7 separate regions of the Homo sapiens genome follow, and all the other regions are linked to region 5. The links are contacts of gene promoters, found by promoter capture Hi-C in blood cells and fetal thymus (Javierre and others, 2016). All regions are on one chromosome and are shown on one strand. Each heading gives the region's core, a stretch centred on a gene start or on the middle of the fragment in contact. The rest is flanking DNA. Distances are from core to core; before and after follow the strand shown. Region 1 holds the start of ZNRF1 (zinc and ring finger 1). Region 2 overlaps RFWD3 (ring finger and WD repeat domain 3). Region 3 overlaps MLKL (mixed lineage kinase domain like pseudokinase). Region 4 overlaps GLG1 (golgi glycoprotein 1). Region 5 holds the start of MON1B (MON1 vesicular trafficking associated B). Region 6 overlaps ZNRF1 (zinc and ring finger 1). Region 7 overlaps WDR59 (WD repeat domain 59).

Region 1 (2,989 bases), core at 490-2,989, 2.2 Mb after region 5:
GAGCCAAGCCTGCTGCATGCAGTACGGGTGACCACAGCCCGGGTCCTGCAAAGCCCCCGCGAGACTCGCCGGCTGGGCCCTCCGTACAGCAGCCACACCTGTCTATGCCAGCCGCCTGCCGGCTGCTCCATTTTAAACATTTCAAACAGATCTCCAGCAGGGTGGCAAAACTGGGCACCTCTCTCTCCCAGCAAGAGTGAGAGCCCTAATCCAGGCATCACTTGCCCCTGATTTTATTTCATTTTCACACACTCTGTTTAGGAGACACTGCTTGCTCCAACTGGCTCCATCTCTCCGTTACCGGTGAGGCAGGCACAGTGCTGCAGTGGCAGAATGGAAGTACCCAGGCTGACTTGCTCTCAGCCAGACACGACCTCTTCTCTGAGGAGGGTGATGCCAATAAATGGAACTCCAATAGGTAGGCTTCGCTCTGCCCTTCCACAAGTGAACACACGCCGTGAGTCCCTAAATCGCCAGGCTCCGCAGCCTCGCAGAAAGCCTAGTTTCCAGACGGTAGGTATCCCATTTATCCCTTGGCATCGGGAACCAAAGGGAATGCAGACAGATCCCGGTCGTGCACTACATTCCCAAACCTTGGCACGCACGCGAAGGCTTGGGGCGCCCCGGCGCGCCCTCCCTCCGAGGCCTCCACCACCCGCGGACTCACCACTATGCGAGCTGAACCACCTGGGTGCGATGTGCAGAGGTAGAGCATCCGCCAGCGAGGCTCGGGAGCCCAGGTACAGCATCCCGTCTCTATGGTGACCGCCGCCCGTCTCCTGGTAACCATTGCCATGGGCATAGGTGGAGTCGGACGCAGACCCTCCGCCGCCGGGCGCCCTCTCGGAGTCGCCGGTGCCCCGGGAGGCGGGGGTGTAGAGGCCAAAGGGCACCCCCCCGGCCGTGCTGGGGTCCATGCCCATGCCTGCCACCGAGCTGACCGAGCGGCTGCGCAGCCCCATGGCCCCGCCGCCCGTCCGGTAGTGCCCGAAATGGGGCGCCCCTCCCGGCGGCGGCACGGCGCTGTCATCGGTGGAGACCCCCGGGAAGGGGCCCCGGGAGCGGGCCGCCGTGCTCTGCTTGCCCCCCATGCTCGCCCGGGCCCCGGTGGGGCGGGAACCTGGAGGCCGAGACCCTCCCCCACTTCTCAGCAGCAGGGGGAGGGCTGGGCGAGCATAAAGGGGGAGGGAGTCAAAAAGGAGACCCGGAGGGAGAAAAGGAAAAAAAGCAAAAGGAAAAAAGGAAAAAACCCGCGGGGCGGAAGAGGCAGGCGGGCGGGCGGGGATCCCAAACTCAGAATTTCAAACGATCCAAGGCAAACGCATGTTTCCCCTCAAGGTCCAAAGAGGCGCAGTCCGGCGCGGGCTCCGCGCGCCACAGGCCGCCCCCGGGCTCCGAAAGCCGGGGGAGCCGCAGGGAAGGAGGGAGGGAGGCGGCGGCGAGCGGCGGGCGGGCGCGGGGAGGCGCCGGAGGAGGCCGCCCGCCCCGCGGGAGGAGGCGGAGGAGGGCCGGGGGCGCCGGGCGCGTCCCCCGCCTCAGGACGCCGCGACCATGGACGGCGGCCCGGACCCCTCCAGGCCTCGGGCGGGCCGCGGCGCTGGGCGGCCAGGCGCAGCTCGGGAAGCCGCGGTCGCGTCGCGTCGCGCTCTCGCTTCAGCCGCCGCCGGCCCCGCCAGCCGCGCCGCCCCGCTCGGTCCCGGGCTGCGCTCGCCGGCGCTCCTCGCCGCCGTGGAGACAATGGAGGGCGGCAGAGCGCAGGCGCGGCCCGCGCCCCCTCCCCCTCCCCCCGCCGGGTTAACCCTTTCGCGGTCCCTGCGGCGCCTGGGCCGCTGACGCCCCAGCAGTCCCCACCCACCGCCCGCCCCCGGCCGGCCTGTGACCTGGGCGGCCTGACCACTGGGCGTTAGCCACAGAAACCAGATGTCTTTCAAAAGCAAACACTTCTTAAGTCCCCGAAAGTGGCAAATTATTCAGGGGGAACCAAGTATGGGGGAGGGGCAGCAATGGTTCGAGGGGGTGGGAAGGAAACACCGGGAAGAAGGAGATTTACTCCTTACGCCTACCTGGCTCTGAGGGTCACCGGTCGAGCTCCCCTCCTGGCACAAATTTGCCCCCACAGCACCCTCTGGTGGACGTGATGTCCATTCTTTCGGGGGTTCCCCATCCAAGCACCCCTCACGTCCGGAATCTCAACATTTGGCGGGGTTTAGTTATTTGGGGGTAAACAGCGCCATGGGGACACTTGTGAATCCGGCGTTTTGCTGACACTAGATCATAACTTCCTATTTTGGGCTTAAGCAAATGAGTAGATTCCTTAGCTAAAATGTAATTTTCAGAATCAATAGATGTACCATAAAAAGTGAATAGATATGGGTATGGAAATAGAACAACGCAGCTAGAAGTGATTATAGAAACCTTCTGTCCAAGGCTGGAGCCCTGTTTTGTTTACCATGTGCTGTGTTTCGGCCCTCACCACGGGCCAAGGACACGGTGGGTACTCAATAGGTGTATTGTTGACCAAGCCTGAATCATTTGCAAGGGAGTGTTCCTTTGCTACCTCAAGCCGTCTTTCTCCTATATTCACATTCATTTATTGAACAACTGTTTTTTTTGTTTTGTTTTGTTTTTGTTTTTGAGACGTAATCTCGCCCTGTCACCCAGGCTGGAGTGGTGTGGCGTAACCTCGGCTCACCGCAACCTCCGCCTCCCGGATTCAAGTGATTCTCCTGCCTCAGCCTCCCGAGTAGCTGGGATTACAGGCACATGCCACACTGCACCTGGCTAATTTTTTGTATTTTTAGTAGAGGCGGGGTTTCACCGTATTGGCCAGGCTGGTCTTGAACTCCTGACCTCAGGTAATCCACCTGCCTTGGCCTCCCAAAGTGTTAGGATTACAGGCATGAGCCACCGCGCCCGCCCTGTTTTTCTTTTTCTTTTTTTTCTTTTCTTTTTTTTTTTTTTTGAGACGGAGCCTTGCTCCTCCCAGGCT
Region 2 (2,894 bases), core at 108-2,607, 2.5 Mb after region 5:
TTTTAAGACAAGAGTCTTGCTCTGTCACTCAGGCTGGAGTGCAGTGGCGCAGTATCAGCTCACCAGGACCTCTGGCTCCCGGGTTCAAGCGATTCTTGTGCCTCAGCCTCCTAAGTAGCTGGGATTGCAGGCGTGCACCAGCAGGCTTGGCTATAGTCTGTTGTTTTAAGATGTCATTACTCACGTTATAAAGGCAGGGTAAGATTTCATACATTTGTGTTATAGGTGAAGGCACCTTATGGTGTAATTTGGGGACCCTCCCAAAGTAAATGGGCTAACTTTCCATGGTTGAGAGTTGTGAGTGGTGTTTCCAGGAGCTGGCTGACTGTCAGGAGGCCTCTTGCAAGTCCTCAGTCTTGCTTATCCATGCACTCATTCTTGTTGGGGGACGCAGAGTGGATTCCTCTTGGTCAAGCACAGTGACTTGTATTAACCAACTTAAGGGTGACACTTATAAACCAGATGCCAACTTACAAAGAAAAACAGAACCACTAGAGAGCCAAACAGAAGCCAAACTCTAGTGAGAAAATTGCTTGATGTGGCTGGGCATAGTGGCTCACGCCTGTAATCTCAGAACTTTGAGCGGCCAAGGCAGGCGGATCCCTTTAGGCCAGGAGTTCGAGGCCAACATGGTGAAACCCCATCTCTACTAAAAATACAAAAAATTAGCCGGGCGTGGTGGCACACACCTGTGGTCCCAGCTACTTGGGAGGTTAAGGCATGAGAATTCCTTGAACCTAGGAGGCGGAGCTTGCAGTGAGCCAAGATCTTGTCACTGTAATCCAGCCTGGGTGACAAGAGTGACTCTCTGTCTCAAAAAAAAAAAAAAAAAATTATAGAATCTGCTCAGGGAATGAGTTATACAGAATTTAAATGTTGAAAGATGTCAGTCAAGCTATTTGGCAGCCATAATCTGTCTCCACAAAGGGAATAACCTAAACGGTCAGGAAGTGTGCAGTTCAGTGGAAATTACATCAGTTCTGGAGCCAGGTAAATGTGATTAAAACTTTTTTCCCTGAAGTATGACCTTTCCCAGGACTAATCGCTTATAACTTCTGAATTTCTTGAGATGAATTTCTCAGTGTGGTGTTTGACATTTACTCATCTGACAGACTGTCCCTGGGCCAGGTGTTGAAAGCCTGGGCCAAGGTGAACAGCTTTTGACTCACAGTCAGCCAAGAAGCCAAAGCTATGGAAAGCTAAGTAGTGAGCTTATTCTTCCCAACAGGCTTAGCTGAGGTCACAAACTCCTTTCTGATTTGTTTGGGGCGGTTTCATTCTGGCAGTGGGGGTCATCACTCATTCATCAAATATTGATAACACTCCTCTGTGTGAGAGACTAAACTTTGCCCTAGATATATTGGTGAATAACACAGATCACAATATTGTTTTCCTGGAGCATACGGAGTCTAGGACTACAGAGAGTAGGGAAGGAGCAAAATTCAAAGTTGGTAAGTGCAGGGAAGGAGGAGAATTTCTTGGGTTCTAAATCTGTGCTCCCAAAGAGAAACCCTAGCACTGCTTCCTGTTGGTTTTCACAGTTCCCCTTTCCTGTGTTCTTGCCTGACTTTGGAAATTCTTTGCTACATAAAAGCAATATTAAAGAGTGATTTTTTTTAATCGTCTATCACTTTTTTACTGGGTTCTATGTAGAATTCTATTGATATACGTGTCAACACCCTAACTCTAGTATGTATTTGATTAAATCTTCTTATGAAATGCTTTTCTTATGTGTTTAGTCTCATGGTAGCTATAGCTGCTGTTCACTTAGAATCTCAAGAAATGGAGTTGGTAAACTTGCTTAGCACTGTCTAAAAAGAAAACCTGGCTAGGCGCAGTGGCTCACACCTGTAATCGCAGCATTTTGGGAGGCTGAGGCAGGCGAATCACCTGAGGTCACGAGTTCGAGACCAGCCTGGCCAACATGGTGAAACCCTGTCTACTAAAAATACAAAAATTAGTCGGGTGTGGTGGCGGGTGCCCATAATCCCAGCTGCTCAGGAGACTGAGGCAGGAGAATCGCTTGAACCCGGGAGGTGGATGTTGCAGTGAGCCGAGATTGCGCCACTACACTCCAGCCTGGGCCGCAGAGCGAGACTCCGTCTCAAAAAAAAAAAAAAAGAAAAAGAAAACCTGGGTGATGTCAGTGAAAATGGCAGAGTAAGGACCACAGAGAATTATCTCCATGGAAGTAGTGAAACAACTGGCAGAATTTGTCAGGATCAACTTTTTCATAATTCAGGAAACTGACCAAATGCTTATAGCAATCCAGGGAGTGATTATTAAAGAAAAACAGCCGAATCTCATTGAGCTCTATGGCATTCCTTATTCTTGTCACCTTCTCCAGCTCCTTGATAGTTGTGAAAAGCATCTGCCTGTAATCATAGTAAAAACCAACAGCCTGGCAGGCACCAGAGGGATTGGAGCACCTTCAAAGCCTCATTCCCAGAGAATTATCTTTATATGACCTGTTGGTGGTTCTCTGGAAAACCCCATTTGCAAGACTACTCTTGACTCTGAGCAATGCAGAGTGTGAAAAGCCTAAATCATTTTCCCTGGGGCCTGCCTGAGGTAATGGATATTCAGTGGGATAAGCAATAAACTAACCAATAAGAAGGAAAGGAAAATCTAGGAATGAGATCAATTCAGTCACATCTTCTAAGTCTAGTTCTCTTGCTGTTTCTAGCACATCTGCAGTTACTTTCTTAACTGAAGTCTTGAGCCCGGCAAAAGTCATCCATAAGAGTTGACATCAACTTCTTCTAAATTCCTGATAATGTTGATATTTTGGCCTCCTCCCATGAATCATGAATGTTCTTAGGGGCATCAAGGATGGTGGATCCCCAAGGCACAGTGGCTCATGCCTATAATCCCAGCACTTTGGGGGGCTGAAG
Region 3 (2,734 bases), core at 118-2,617, 2.5 Mb after region 5:
AAATAGAAGCTTCACTGAGACGATTAGAAATCAACATGAAAGAAATCAAGGAAACTTTGAGGCAGTGTAAGTTATCATGTGCCCTGCTGTTTCTGATGGCCCCCAAACTAGAAGTCATCAGTTTACTGGGACCCCAGCCTCCCGCTACCCCTGCATTTGTCCATTTTCTGTGCTGGATGGCTGGAAGCAGCCCACAGGTTTGGGGATCCATTCATGGCTAGCCCAGGCTTCTGTCCATGGAATAACATGTGGAGAGAGCTTCTTGACCAGTAAGATACCTTCTAGCAGCTGTCAAAGTACTTAAAAACCTCTATGAATAGAATCAAAGCTTCAGTTCAGTTGCTGAATTTCCAAGAAGAAATTCAAATCAAATTTAAAATGCCCACTCATTCATTCATTCAACAAAACTGTGAGTATCTGGTTTATGCCAGAGGCCATGCAAAGAGGTAACTAAGATGCAGAGAAGGACACTGCCTTCCAGGAGCTCACGGGGTGGAGGAGGAAAGAGGAAAGACAGACAGTGAACACACAACAGCAAGGTTACTGAGCTTGAACTATGTCCCTAACTACTAGATCTGAAATGACTACGCCAGATGCCAGATGCTCAAGTGCCAAGCTCTGGGTAACAGGAATAGACATCCTTCCAGGATGAGAGAGATGAGTCTGGATGAGGGTTAAGGCTGGAGGGACAGGCGGGATTTGAAGAGGAGGGAAAGGAAGTGGATGACACATTCTGTTAACTGTCCAGCTGTGTCTCTACTGGTCACTCAGAGGCACGGGAGCCGCTCCCTTGGGCTGAGTCCATCAGAAGCCCCAGCCACCACCAGCTCTGGTTCATGTAGTAGAGCTTCCCACTCACACATCACAAATATGCCACCTCCCTTAGGACCCCTTCCTCTGCTCATTGACTCTTTTGTCTTCTTTCCTCTCGGGGGTGAGGTCAGATTTACCACCAAAATGCATGCAGGAGATCCCGCAAGAGCAAATCAAGGAGATCAAGAAGGAGCAGCTTTCAGGATCCCCGTGGATTCTGCTAAGGGAAAATGAAGTCAGCACACTTTATAAAGGAGAATACCACAGAGCTCCAGTGGCCATAAAAGTATTCAAAAAACTCCAGGCTGGCAGCATTGCGTAAGTTGTTTTGTGTGGTTCTCTCGTGTGTACCAATACTTACTCTAACTCTCCAAGGAGAGAGGGATATCGTCTCCATTTTTAGATGAGGAAGCCTGGGCCCTAAAGGGTTAAATTATGTGCTCTCCACTGTTAAGGAGCAGAGTCTTGACTTAAATACATCTTTCCACCTCAGTTCTAGGTCTTCTCTCCTTTGTCCACATATATATTTAAAAAAAAAAAACAACTTTCCCTTCCAACCTTGTTTCCCAGTTGCTCATCCCCTCCACAGACAGTAGTTCTAGTGTGTTTTGTTTGTATGTGTTCTTGTAAAATGTATGCATACATTTTTCATGTTCACAACTGGTAGAGTTACGTGTCTGTTGCCTCCTTTCCTCACTTTTTTCACTCAACATCATGAAACGTGTTCCATATCTGGACTCCTTAATTTCTGTCTGCCATCCATGGTGAAGATCCACATTTTGCCTTTTTTTTTTTTTTTTTTTTTTTTTTTTTGAGACAAGGTCTCACTCTGTTGTCCAGGCTGGAGTGCAGTGGTGAGATCATAGCTCATTGCAGCCTTAACCTCCTGGGCTCCAGCAATCCTCACACCTCAGCCTCCCAAGTAGCTGGGACTGCAGGTGTGCACCACCATTCTTGTCTAATATTTAAATTTTTTGTAGAGACAGGGACCCACTGTGCTGCCCAGGCTTGTCTGGAACTCCTGGACTCAAGCGCCTTCTGCCTCAGCCTTCCAAAATGTTGGGATAACAGGCGTGAGCCATATATTTTGTCTCTTTTTTTTTCCAGTGATGGAACCTAGTCAGCTTCCAACTTTTCCCCACCAAAAAGATGCCATACTTAGTTTCCCTTTAGGGACCTGTATAAGAATCCTTCAGGATATAGCACCAGGAGAGAAAATGATGGGCCATGGGATATGTGTATATTAAGTGACTAAGTACTACCAGGCAACTCTTCAGAACAGTGTCTATGCCTACACTCCCACAAGCAACCTCACCAACCCTTAGTGTTATCCAGCTTTCTGATTACTTTCATCTTTATAGTTATAAAGTGATCAATATCTTGTAGTTATTTGAACTTGCATTTCTGTTTTTACTAATGAATTCAAGCCCTTATTTACATGTTTTAGTTATTTGGGTTTTCTCTTCCATAAATTGCCTGTTCATATCCTCTGCCCTTTTTTCCATCACGGTTGCTGCTTTTGTCTTGTCTGTTTGTAAATCTTTGTATATTGTGGAAATAAAGCACTTGTCAGCTTTAGACATTGCAAGCTTTTTATTTGTGCTCTGGAGGTGTCCTGCTCCACCTCTAGATCTTAAAGGCATTCTATATTTTCCTCTCTTAACTTTCCAGTTTTATTTTTTATATTTAGGTTTTAATCCTACTAGAATCCACCTTTGTATGTGACGTTATGTAGGGTCAACTTTTATTTTTAGCCACATAGTAAGTCAGTTTTCTCTATACCATCTATTAAGTCGTCTGTCTTTTCCCTGTTGATTTGTGGTACCATATTTATTGTATATTAAGTTTTTATATAGACATAGATCTGACTCTGATCTGTCTAATCTTTCCCACTGATCAATTTGTCTGTTTTTGTACCAGT
Region 4 (2,815 bases), core at 62-2,561, 2.6 Mb after region 5:
AGCCATTCTCCTGCCTCAGCCTCCCGAGTAGCTGGGATTATAGGCACTTGCCAGCACACCCGGCTAATTTTTGTAGAGACGAGGTTTCACCATGTTGACCAGGGTGGTCTCAAACTCCTGACCTCAGGCAATCCACCCACCTCAGTCTCCCAAAGTGTTGGGATTACAGACGTGAGCCACCGCGCCCGGCCTTATTTATATATTTTTAAAAGCAGCAGTTAAAATGGCTTATAGGCTATCATGTAAATTAATTTTTCTTCTTTCTTTTTTCTTTTTTTTTTTGAGATGGAGTCTCATTCTGTCACCAAGCTAGAGTGCAGTGGCGCGATCTCGGCTCACTGCAACCTCCACCTCCTGGGTTCAAGTGATTCTCCTTCCTCAGCCTCCCGAGTAGCTGGGACTACAGGCGCCCGCCACCACGCCCGGCTAATTTTTTGTATTTTTAGTAGAGACGGGGTTTCACCATGTTGGCCAGGATGGTCTTGATCTCTTGACCTCGTGATCCGCCCGCCTTGGCCTCCCAAAGTGCTGGGATTACAGGCGTGAGCCACCGCGCCCGACCAATTTTTCTTCTTTCAGCAAACATTTATTGAAACCTGTGTGCAAGACACTGCTCAGTGTTCAAGTATACTACTGCTACTTATAATGGTTAGCATTTACTGAGGGTTTTCTGTGTGCCCTGTTCTGAGGGACTGGATGCTTTCTAGGCGTTATCTCATTTAATCTTATGAGAGATGTTTTATTATTATCATTCTTATTGATTTTGTTTGTTTGATTTTGTTTTCGAGACAGAGTCTTGCTCTTGACGCCCAGGCTGGAGTGCAGTGGTGTGATCTCAGCTCACTGTAATCTCTGGCTCCCGGGTTCAAGCGATTCTCCTGCCTCAGCCTCATGAGTAGCTAGGACTACAGGTACACACCACCATGTCCAGCTTTTTTTTTTTTTTTTTTGAGGCAGTCTCACTTTGTCACCCAGGCTGGAGTGCAGTGGTGCGATCTCAGCTCACTGCAAGCTCCACCTCCCGGGTTCACGCCATTCTCCTGCTTCAGCCTCCCGAGTAGCTGGGACTACAGGCGCCCGCCACCATGCCCGGCTAATTTTTTGTATTTTTTAGTAGAGATGGGATTTCACTGTGTTAGTCAGGATGGTCTCAATCTCCTGACCTCGTTATCCGCCAGCTTCGGCCTCCCAAAGTGTTGGGATTACAGGCGTGAGCCACTGCGCCCGGCTAATTTTTGTTTTTTTAGTAGAGGCAGGATTTCGCCATGTTGGCTATGCTGGTCTTGAACTCCTGACCTCAGGTGATCTGCTTGCACCACCATCTATCACCGGAGCTTTTTTTTTCTTTTTTCTTTCTTTTTTTTTTTTTTTGAGATGGAGTCTCACTCTGTCATCCAGGCTGGAGGGCAGTGGCATGATGTCAGCTCACTGCAACCTCAGCCTCCCTGGTTCAAGCGATTCTCCTGCCTCAGCCTCCTGAGTAGCTGGGACTATAGGCGCACCCCACCACGCCCAGGTAATTTTTGTATTTTTACTAGAGACGGGGTTTCGCCATGTTGGACATGCTGGTCTTGATCTCTTGACCTGGTGATCCTCCCGCCTCGGCCTCCCAAAGTGCTGGGATTACAGGCGTGAGCCACTGTGCCTGGTGAGTTTTGTTTTGGGTTTTTTTTTTGTTTGTTTGAGACGAGGTCTCACTCTCTTGCCCAGGCTGCAGTGCAGTGGCATGATCATGATTCACTGCAGCCTCTGCCTCCCGAGCACGAGTGATCATCCCACCTCAGCCTCCTGAGTATCTCCTCCTTAGTAGTAACCATACTCGGTTAATTTTAAAAGTTGTTTTTTTTTGTAGAGATGAGGTCTCACTCTGTTGTCCAGGCTGGTCTCCAACTCCTGAGTTCAAGCAGTCCTCCTGCCTTGGCCTCCCAGAGTGCTGGAATTATAGGCATGTGCCACTGTACCCAGCCTATTACATCCTATTATTTTTAGTGAGAAAACTGATTCTAAATAGCTTGCCTCAGGGCTTGTAAGTAGTGGAATCAAGATTTGAAAACAAGTCAGTCCAGCTGTGTGATAGCTCATTTTCCCCCCTGTCCCTAAAGCATAAGTAACCTAGGACTGCACTGTCTACTGTGGTAGTCATCAGCCACGTGCAGCTAGTGAACAGTTGAAACATGGCCTGTTTGAATTGAGATGTGCTGTAAGTATAAAATACACATTTGATTTTGAAGATTTAGTACCAAAAGGATGCATAATATCACAATAATTTTTTTTTTGAGGTGGAGTCTCTTGTGGCCCAGGCTGGAGTGCAATGGCACGATCTTGGCTCACTGCAACCTCTGCCTCCCGAGTTCAAGCAATTCTCCTGCCTCAGCTTCCCGAGTAGCTGGGTTTACAGGCACACGCCACCACTTCTGGCTAATTTTTGTATTTTTAGTAGAGAAGGGGTTTGACCATGTTGGCCAGGCTTGTCTCGAACTGCTGACCTCAGGTGATCCACCTGCCTTAGCCCCCCAAAGTGCTGGGATTACAGGCATTAGCAACCACGCCCAGCCCACAATAAATTTTTTTTCTTTTTTTGAGACAGAGTCTCGCTCTGTTGCCCAGGCTGGAGGGCAGTGGCATGATCTCAAAATGTGTACACTTTGAAGGGGTAAATCCTCTGGGTAAAGGAATTAAGTTCTGCCAAATTTGGAATACTGCCTATCAAAGGAAAACTCCACTTTCACGTATAAGGGGCAACCTCTGCCTCTCAGGTTCGAGCAATTCTCCTGCCTCAGCCTCCCGAGTGGCTGCGACTATGGGCATGTGGCAC
Region 5 (2,925 bases), core at 409-2,908:
GACTCCCCTAATCCACTATTCACTCCCACTGTGGTTCACAAACACCCCAATGACCCCACATTAACAATCATTAACACCTGGTTTTTCAATGACCCTCCATGACTGCCCTGATCCACAAGTTATTCTACTCCATGTCTACTCCCCCCTACCCCCAACAATGACCATCATTAACCTCCACTAACACCCAGCACTTCAGAGACCTTCAGTCACTCCCCTGACCACCTTCAATCTCATTGGTATCCACTCCCCTCCCTACAGTAACCATCATAATATCCACTAACACACAAGACTTTAATGACTTCCATTGCCCCTACCCATGACCATCATTAACATTCACTAAAACCCACAACTTCAACAGCCCCTACTGACACATCCATTTATTCCCATTGATTTCCATTCATCCCCCAATGACAACCATTATTATCCATGTGCAACTATGTCTCAATAATTTTCCCATAAAATCCCAATAATTGCATATTCTGTCACTGACATTCACTGACACTCCCATGTCCCCAAATATCTTTACTCCCTCCTAATAACTGCTCTTACCTGCTATTAATTCCCAAGTCCTCAACCTCCCCATCCACATTTATTCTCAGTGAGGTCCACTGATCCTTCCCAATGACTCCATTTACATCCACTAATTCCAAAGTGATCAATGGCACAGACTTCTCAGTGACTTCCATTAAATCTCAAATGAACAACTTTACACATCCACTAACATTTGGTCCCTTAAAGACTTCCCCAACAGTCTACAAGTGACTTCAATGATGTAAATACTCTGAGTGCCCATCGAACTCCACTGATTCCCCTTCCCACTTCTATTATTTAATAAATAACACCCTACTCCTCAAAAACACTAACTTCTCAACAGTCCTCCTCTGTTGAGTCTATTGACTTTCTTCAGCGCATTCTTTGATCTAAACACTCTAAATCCTCAGTGACCCTCTTTGGTCCTAACAGCCCCCTTTTTGATTCCTCAATGACCTAAACTCACACCAAACCCCCAGTGAACATCCGTTGACAGCCAATGACTTCCTCAATGATGTAAACTACACCATGTGTCCACAGTGACCTCCTCCTGACCCGGCGATGGTTTAAGCCACTTCTCTTAAGTCCCAAGACTCCCTACTGGTCACCCACTGACCCTTCCCCCGTCCAACAATGACAACCCCTAAGGATTCCTTTTAAGACCCCACTAAGTGGAGTCATACCTGTTTCCTCCAGGCCCTCGTCTTCGGGATCCGGCGGGACCGCGTGAACCCCTCCACCTTCTCTAGCTTCCTCACTGGGGAACTGCGTGTCCTCCAAGTCCTCCGCGCCCCCGGGGGCCGGGGCAGCAGTGTCTCCTCCGACCTCCATCTGCACATCCCTGAGTGGGAGGGGAATCGAGGGTGACGGGCGGTGAAAGAAACTTCTGAAAAGCCTTTATAGAGTCAGGCCCCCTTGGACACACTCCTACTGCTCATTTCCCCACGGATTTCAATAGGACGAGACATCCAAAATCATGCCCAAATACGTCCCCCCTCCAACACTTTCCGAAAAGAGGAGACTCTACTGGGCCTCAGGAAATAGAGATATACAAACACCTGTTTTAACTCCGAATCTCAATTGGCCGGATACCATTACTTCCCCGTAGCGGCGGTGGCATCACACTTCCGGGTGCGGCCCGGGAGGTGCCACACTTCCGGGTACGACCCCTCCCAGAAGACACTTCCGGTTGCGGAGCTTTATTGGCTCCTCGCGGCGTCCCTCTCCCGCCGCCTACGGGTGTCCCCTCATAGTTGAGATGGCGCGGGCCACTTCGGATCTACGTCAGGTCTGTTCGGGAGCGCAATGAGACCTCTCTGCACTCCTTTCAACGGATCTGGCTACGGCTGCTAACCCGGGAGAGCGAGGCCCACTTCGCTTACCAGTGGTTGGCGTGAGGGGGGACGCGGCTCGCTCTAGCCAATCCCGGAGTACATAGGGCGCGACCGTCTTCTTTCTGGGCCAATCGAGATGAGCCGCCTCATTTCCCCGCTGTCTACTCCCCCCGCCAAATCCTAACCAATACTGTGCGTTGTGTTGCGTTTGCACACGCCCATCCATTGATTGACGTCTCCCTCGACCCAATCGAAGACTCGAGCCTATTCCTTGTTTCACAAGAGGACTTTTGCAGCGTCAGTCCCGATGGATACCTGTGCCGGACCCACAAACGGGCTCTCCCAGAACTGAGGCAACTCCACTTTCTCTTATCCCTTAACCCTGCCAAGAAAGTCAAGGGAGGGGAGAGGCGCGAATGCTTGACGGGCAGTCGCCGCTTCTAATCAGCGTGCCGCGCCAGCAGCTCCGTACCCTGCCGGGTTCCCACGTCTACCTGCAGCTGGGGGAAGAACTCTGCCAGCCCAGGGCAGGGGCGGGCACTCACTTGGACCAGGACCTGCCCGACGCCCCCGGTCCGCCGGGCGAACGGGTCGTCACTTTCTGTGATCAGTTTGGGAAAAGGCTTGGGGGCCCTGCCACGGGCCAGTGTGGGAACCCAGGGTTCGAATTCCCGCCCCGACGCTGCTTCCGGACCGAAAGCCCCCTGAACGCCTTGCCCCAAGTGCCCTGGGCCTTGGTTTCTCCATCAGTGAAACAATGATGGGAATCGCTTGACGTGAAGTGAGTGGAGGTGCTGGCACACTTCGAGTGATTGCTAAGGGGAAGCCTTTGGTACTAGTTAGGATAATTATTTTAATTACAGTATAGTTAGGGTAATGAATTCCAAATACCAGTGTAGCATCATGTGCTTTATATACAATAGGTAATCGATAAGTAATAAATATTAAATTTATATAACAGAAACAATGGATAAATTTATGTGCATACAAAATATATTTACCTAATACATTTAGAAGTATATAATATATAATAAACATGTAAAAAAGTACAATAAAATAA
Region 6 (2,818 bases), core at 57-2,556, 2.2 Mb after region 5:
CATGGGAAGACCCTGTCTCAAGAAAATAAATAAAAAGCTGTATTTTGTCCAGGCATGGTGACTCATACCTGTACTCTCAGCACTTTGGGAGGCCAAGGTGAGAAGATCGCTTGAGACTGGGAGTTCACGACCAGCCTGAGCAACACAGTAGTCTCTACAAAAAAAAAACCCATAGTAGTCTCTACCAAAAAAAAAGCTATATTAATCTTTTTGTTTGTTTTTTGAGACGTCTCACTCTGTCTCCCAGGCTGGAATGCAGTGACACCATCTCAGCTCACTGCAACCTCCGCCTCCTGGGTTCAAGCAGTCATCCTGCCTCAACCTCCTGAGTAGCTGGGATTACAGTCACGCGCCACCACGCCCGGCTAACTTTTATATTTTCAGTAGAGACAGGGTTTCATCATGTTAGCCAGGCTGGTCTTGAACTCCTGAACTCAAATGATCCGCCTGCCTCAGCCTCCCAAAGTGCTGGGATTACAGGCGTGAGCCACCAAGCCTTGCCTTATTAATCTTAGTAAGAGAAGAAAAAGACAGTATAACAAAATTATGAGTGAAATTTTATGACATATGTGCAAAAATCCAAAGGAGAATATTAACGTATTAAATCTGGAAATGTATTAAAAAAATACATCACAACCAAGCAGGATTAATTTCAAGAATATAAGGATAATTTAACATTAGAAAATCTATTAACATAATTCAAATCATTTACAACTGAAAGGAGAAAGCCCAGATGATCATCTGAATAAATACAAGGAAAACTGTTGATAAAATTGCTGTTTGTGATAATTTAGCAAAGTAGGAATAAAAGAGAATAAAGGCAATATACCAAAAACATATGTGATGCTTCCAAAAGCAGGAAACATTCCCTTTAAAAAAAAGCAGGAGAAAAATAAGGATTCCCATGATCATAGATTCTAATACGATTTTTACTGGAGGAACTAGCCAGCAATCTTAAAATAAGAAAGAAAAGTAACACAAAAGAGGATTACAAAAGAGGAAACAAAACAGTCATTATTTGCAAAGGGTGTGATTCTCTGAATTTTCTGTCGATATTTCTCATTAAAACTATGAAACCTACAAGAGCATAACAAGAAACCCGAAACAATTATAAACAATTTTAAAAGCTACTATTAACAGTAAGGACCAAAACTATAGGGTATCCTAACAAAAGGAATTCAAGATCTTCAAAAAAATCATAAAGCTTTATCCAGTGACATTAAATATTAACAGCTTACATTACTGATCACTTACTACCTGCTGGGCACTGTTGTGAGTGATGTGGATATGCTACAAACTCATTTGATTCATATGAGTCCTATATGATAGACACTGTTATTATTGTTAGCTTCACTTTAGAGGTAAAGAAATTAAGGCACAGGTTGTTAGGTCACTTGCCCAAGCTTCCAAAACCAAAAATTAGCAACACTGGGATTCACACCAAAGACAGTCTGGTGCCAAGCCTGTGACCTTAACTACTACCCTATACTGTCTCTCCCAAGAGAGGGTGTCCCATTCCTCCAATAAAGGCATCTCTGGCTCAGCTGAGCCAAACTTCCAGAAGCCATTCTTGTGTCATCCTGATGCCAACTTGATTTGAATTATCTACCCTACAACTGTCTAAGAAGCCCTTCTTTCAACAGATTGGATCCAAGCACCTTGGGAGCAGAGAGTGGCAGTGGATTTATTTCTGTTCACATAAGGATACAGACCAACAATGATTAAAGGAGATCTCAGTTTTAGGCCTAGTCTAAGTGACACCATGTCACTTTTAAGATCACATGGCTCTCCAATTCCCAGGAGCAGATCAATATAGATTTCTTAAACTTGAAAAGTTGTATTTATTAAGATCTTAAGCTGCTTTCCAGACTCAAGAACATAATGGATGTCAATGATTTATCTTTCTGATAACCTTTGAGAATTCTGGGAGATGGATATGTAATATTTATTTGTATAAGTTCTGCAACTTTTCTGTAAGTCTGAAATTATTTCCAAAAATTTTAAATGTAAATAAAATGTTTAAAATTTTTATTTTTATATCTGTAAATCAATTCTATCAGATTCATGGATAAGCCCAAATTTACAAAAATGGCTTATTGATAAACTCAATTTAATTCTAATAAATATCCTAACAGTTTTTTCTCCTCACAGAAAGTTAACAAAGCTGATTCTAAAATTTATCTGGAAGCACAAAGTGCCAAAAATAGCTAACCAGTTTTTGTTGTTTTTACTGTTGTTGTCTGTAACATACAGAACTGTTTACTCTGCTGTTTGCAATACAAAGACATCAGGAAATGTTATTGTTTGTGCAATATAGTAGGGAAAAAAATGAAACTGCCCATTAGGGTGGGTTTGCCAGATGTCCTATCATTAAAAAAGAATACCAGCTTTAAACAGAGCAGTTCCTGGTACTCTGTACTTCACTGTGTTTATTCTATCTGGATTCCCTTATTTGTCCCTTAGAAAGATTCAGTTAGCCAACACAGTTTTGCCCTTCCATGTAGCAAGACCTATTACAAAACGATAGTAAATAAAACAGTAGGCCGGCCGCGGTGGCTCACGCCTGTAATCCCAGCACTCTGGGAGGCCGAGGCAGGTGAATCACCTGAGGTCAGGAGTTCGAGACCAGCCTGACCAACATGGTGAAACCCCATCTCTACTCATACAAAAAAAAAAAAAAAAAAAAGCCAGGCATGGTGACAGACGCCTGTAGTCCCAGCTACTCTGGAGGCTATGGCATGAGAATTGCTTGAACCCGGGAGGCAGACGTTGCAGTCAGTCGAGATCAGGCCACTGCACTCCGGCCTGGGTGACAGAG
Region 7 (3,061 bases), core at 173-2,672, 2.2 Mb after region 5:
ACCCCAATCTAAAAAGCAAAACAACAAACCAGCTTTGGCAGCAGTGTTCATGTATAATTTTATGGTTTTTGAGACAGAGTTTTGCTCTTGTTGCTCAGGCTGGAGTGCAATGGCGCAATCTTGGCTCACTGCAACCTCTACCTCCCGGGTTCAAGCGATTCTCCTGCCTTAGTCTTCTGAGTAGCTGGGATTACAAGCATGCGCCACAACACCTGGCTAATTTTTTGTGTTTTTAGTAGAGATGGGGTTTCTCCTTGTTGGTCAGGCTGGTCTCAAACTCCCGACCTCAGACCTCAGGTGATCTGCCCGCCTCGGCCTCCCAAAGTGCTGGGATTACAGGCGTGAGCGACCGTGCCTGGCCAATATCTAATTTGAATAGAAATTGGATCTTGTCCTCTGAAATGGTCGGACCCTTTTAATAATCAGTGGTTTTCAGTTTGTGGCTTTAGTCTGTAAAACCTCTTTTTTTTTTTTTTTTTTTTTTTTTTTTAAGACAGAGTCCTGCTCTGTCACCCAGGCTGGAATGCAGTGGCTCCATCTCGGCTCACTGCAATCTCCATCTCCCAGGTTTCAAGTGAATCTTGTGCCTCAGCCTCCTGAGTAGCTGGGATTACAGGTGTGCGCCACCACGCCTGGCTAATTTTTGTATTTTTAGTAGCCATGTTGGCCAGGCTGGTCTCAAACTCCTAACCTGAAATGATCCACCCACCTTGGCCTCCCATCGTGCTGAGATTACAGGTGTGAGCCACCGTGCCTGGCCTAGACATGAGTTTTAATCTAATTCTGACTGCAAAGCCGATGCATACCGTTTCTGCTGCACCAGGCTACCTCCATTTTATGCCTGGAGAAAGGGCAGAGTTTTTCCTCCCTTTGATAAATTGTGGTCTGTTGCTTTGGATTGCTGAAACCAAGTGCTTCAGAACACTGTTGCCTTTGGAAGTTGACTCACCAAGAAATTTTTTAAACGAGGACAGCAGCAATTTGTAGTCTAATAGAGTCTCATGGAATTGATTTCCTTCATTAGCCATCAGTTAGCTTGACGTTTCCAAATTATTATATTTACTCCAAGAGAATCAGAATCAAATATCACCATCAATTCTCATTTCATAAAGGGCATGTAAATCCTAAAGTGTTAAGTGTGCCAAAAGTCACCATCCTTCTTTGCAGTTGAAGGAACAAAGACTTCTAAGAACTTCATTCTCTTCTGTTTAAAGATACCTGTTTTGATAGAGAGCAGTCCTGGACAATAAGTTTGTTTTCCTACAATTGAGGAGGACTTTTCAGTATGGAAAAGCAAGAGTTTGGCTGGGCATGGTGGCACATGCCCATAACCCTAGCCCCTTGGGAGGCTGAGGCAGGAAGATTGCTTGAACCCAGGAGTTCAACACCAGACTGGGCTACATAGCGACCCCCCATCTCTACACAAAATTTTAAAATTAGCCGGGTGTGGTGGTGTGCATCTGTAGTCCCAGTTACTTGGGAGCCTGAGGCAGGTTAATCACTTGAGCCCAGAAGTTTGGGGTTACAGTGAGTACCACTGCACTCCAGCCTTGGCGACAGAGTGAGACACTTTCTTAGAGGCTGGGTGCTGTGGCTCACACCTGTAATCCCTGCACTTTGGGAGGCCCAGGCAGGTGGATCACTTAAGGTCAGTAGTTCGAGACCAGCCTGGCCGACATGGTGAAACCCCATCTCTATTAAAAATACAAAAAACAGCCAGGCACGGTGACAGGTACTTGTAATCCCAGCTACTCAGGAGGCTGAGGCGGGAGAATTGCTTGAACTCAGGAGGCAGAGGTTGCAGTGAGCCGAGATTGCGCCACTGCACTCCAGCCTGGGTGACAGAGCAAGACTCCATCTCAAAAAAAAAAAAAAAAAAAAAAAAGGAAGGAAAGAAGGAAGGAAAACTGATGAAAATTTTACAGTATAAAGTGTATGGGTAAGGTACACAAATCTTTTTTTTCTCTTTTTTTTGGGACCACTGTCAGAAACAAAATTTTGTTCATCACATTATTCTAATAGAACGTCTCACACAGCATGCAGTGAGCTATTGAAGTTTATTGTCCTAGGAGGTATTAACGAAACGAATGAACTTTAAAAGTTTAGATAAACTCGTGGGTGATAAATTATTAAGGGGAATTATCAAGAGAAACCACCAAAAATATTCTCAGAGATGTCGAGGAACACCTTGGCACATTGTGAGCTGGAAGGACCTTGATTTTGACTTGGTTCTGACCTACCATCTTTTTTTTGGCTTTTTTTTTAGACAGGGTCTTGCTTTGTCGTTTAGCCAGGAGTGTAGTGGTGTGAACATTGCTCATTGTAGCCACAACCTCTCGGGCTCAAGTTATCCTCCCCTCAGCCCCCCAAGTAGCTGGGAGTACAAGTGCATACACCATTCCTGGCTAATTTTTTTTTTTTTTAAAAGGTGTGGTTTAATCATGTTGTCCAGGCTGGTCTCGAACTCCTGGGCTCCAAGCAATCCTCCTGCGTTGGCTTCCCAAAGTCCTGGGATTATAGGTGTGCACCACCATGCCCAGCTGCAACCATCTTTCATACTACAGAGTTTTACAGAGCACCTCTGTGTACAAAGCAACTTGCTGGGTGCTCTGGGAGAAATGAAATAGACCATGCTCAGCAGGGGCTCATCAGCTAGTGGGAGAAGAAAGATGTGTATAGCAATAACTAAACACAGCAAGCTGTGGCAAGTTCTGTGATGCAGGGGCAGAGAAAGTGCTTTCGGAAAAGGTGGAACCTGCTTAGAGAGGTCCTTGGGAGAGCTGCTTTTTTTTTTTTTTTTTTTTTTTTTTTTTTTTGGAGACAGAGTCTCTCTCTGTCACCCAGGCTGGAGTGCAGTGGCGCATCTTGGCTCACTGCAAGCTCCGCCTCCTGGGTTCATGCCATTCTGGGAGAGCTTCTTAGGGGAGGTATGTCTTGGGACTTAGAAGATAAGTAGAATTAAGTGAAATGACAAATGACAAGGTATCACATTGCCTGCCTTTAAATTATACTACAAGGCTGTGGTAACTCAAACAGCATGGTACTGCTAGAAAACTAGACA

What was found. The method cuts DNA at HindIII sites, captures the fragments that hold promoters and counts their contacts. A CHiCAGO score of 5 or more calls a contact.
Region 1: the fragment with the promoter of ZNRF1 here is called in contact with the fragment with the promoter of MON1B in region 5 in 1 of 17 cell types (neutrophils); the score reaches 11.0 in neutrophils.
Region 2: a fragment that was not itself captured here is called in contact with the fragment with the promoter of MON1B in region 5 in 1 of 17 cell types (neutrophils); the score reaches 8.5 in neutrophils.
Region 3: a contact is called between a fragment that was not itself captured here and the fragment with the promoter of MON1B in region 5, in 1 of 17 cell types (neutrophils). The highest score is 5.3, in neutrophils.
Region 4: a contact is called between a fragment that was not itself captured here and the fragment with the promoter of MON1B in region 5, in 1 of 17 cell types (neutrophils). The highest score is 8.0, in neutrophils.
Region 6: a contact is called between a fragment that was not itself captured here and the fragment with the promoter of MON1B in region 5, in 1 of 17 cell types (total B cells). The highest score is 5.6, in total B cells.
Region 7: a fragment that was not itself captured here is called in contact with the fragment with the promoter of MON1B in region 5 in 1 of 17 cell types (neutrophils); the score reaches 5.7 in neutrophils.

What each region holds. Positions count from the first base shown.
Region 1 is chr16:74,997,774-75,000,762 of GRCh38, reverse strand. It overlaps ZNRF1 (zinc and ring finger 1), which reads right to left and starts at 1,739. Exons shown (of 5, transcript NM_032268.5): 1 at 668-1,739. The coding sequence starts at 1,091. RefSeq lists silencers at 718-1,027, 1,428-1,947. The HindIII fragment of the contact is 6,289 bases long and covers 1-2,989 here.
Region 2 is chr16:74,656,706-74,659,599 of GRCh38, reverse strand. All of the region lies in intron 2 of RFWD3 (ring finger and WD repeat domain 3), which reads left to right. Among named protein-coding and RNA genes, the nearest start is that of RFWD3, 8.7 kb to the left of the region's middle. The HindIII fragment of the contact is 3,732 bases long and covers 1-2,894 here.
Region 3 is chr16:74,689,674-74,692,407 of GRCh38, reverse strand. MLKL (mixed lineage kinase domain like pseudokinase) reads left to right here. Exons shown (of 11, transcript NM_152649.4): 3 at 1-66; 4 at 945-1,131. Among named protein-coding and RNA genes, the nearest start is that of MLKL, 9.8 kb to the left of the region's middle. The HindIII fragment of the contact is 2,074 bases long and covers 331-2,404 here.
Region 4 is chr16:74,595,987-74,598,801 of GRCh38, reverse strand. The region is part of intron 1 of GLG1 (golgi glycoprotein 1); the gene reads left to right. Among named protein-coding and RNA genes, the nearest start is that of GLG1, 9.7 kb to the left of the region's middle. The HindIII fragment of the contact is 9,477 bases long and covers 1-2,815 here.
Region 5 is chr16:77,189,923-77,192,847 of GRCh38, reverse strand. MON1B (MON1 vesicular trafficking associated B) reads right to left here and starts at 1,658. Exons shown (of 6, transcript NM_014940.4): 1 at 1,590-1,658; 2 at 1,215-1,372. The coding sequence starts at 1,362. LOC124903725 reads left to right here and starts at 2,282. Exons shown (of 1, transcript XM_047435021.1): 1 at 2,282-2,925. The coding sequence starts at 2,282. The coding sequence ends at 2,626. RefSeq lists enhancers at 1,507-1,556, 1,577-1,866, 992-1,940. The HindIII fragment of the contact is 24,724 bases long and covers 1-2,925 here.
Region 6 is chr16:75,016,568-75,019,385 of GRCh38, reverse strand. All of the region lies in intron 1 of ZNRF1 (zinc and ring finger 1), which reads right to left. Among named protein-coding and RNA genes, the nearest start is that of ZNRF1, 19 kb to the right of the region's middle. The HindIII fragment of the contact is 199 bases long and covers 1,207-1,405 here.
Region 7 is chr16:74,970,251-74,973,311 of GRCh38, reverse strand. The region is part of intron 1 of WDR59 (WD repeat domain 59); the gene reads left to right. Among named protein-coding and RNA genes, the nearest start is that of WDR59, 13 kb to the left of the region's middle. The HindIII fragment of the contact is 5,982 bases long and covers 1-3,061 here.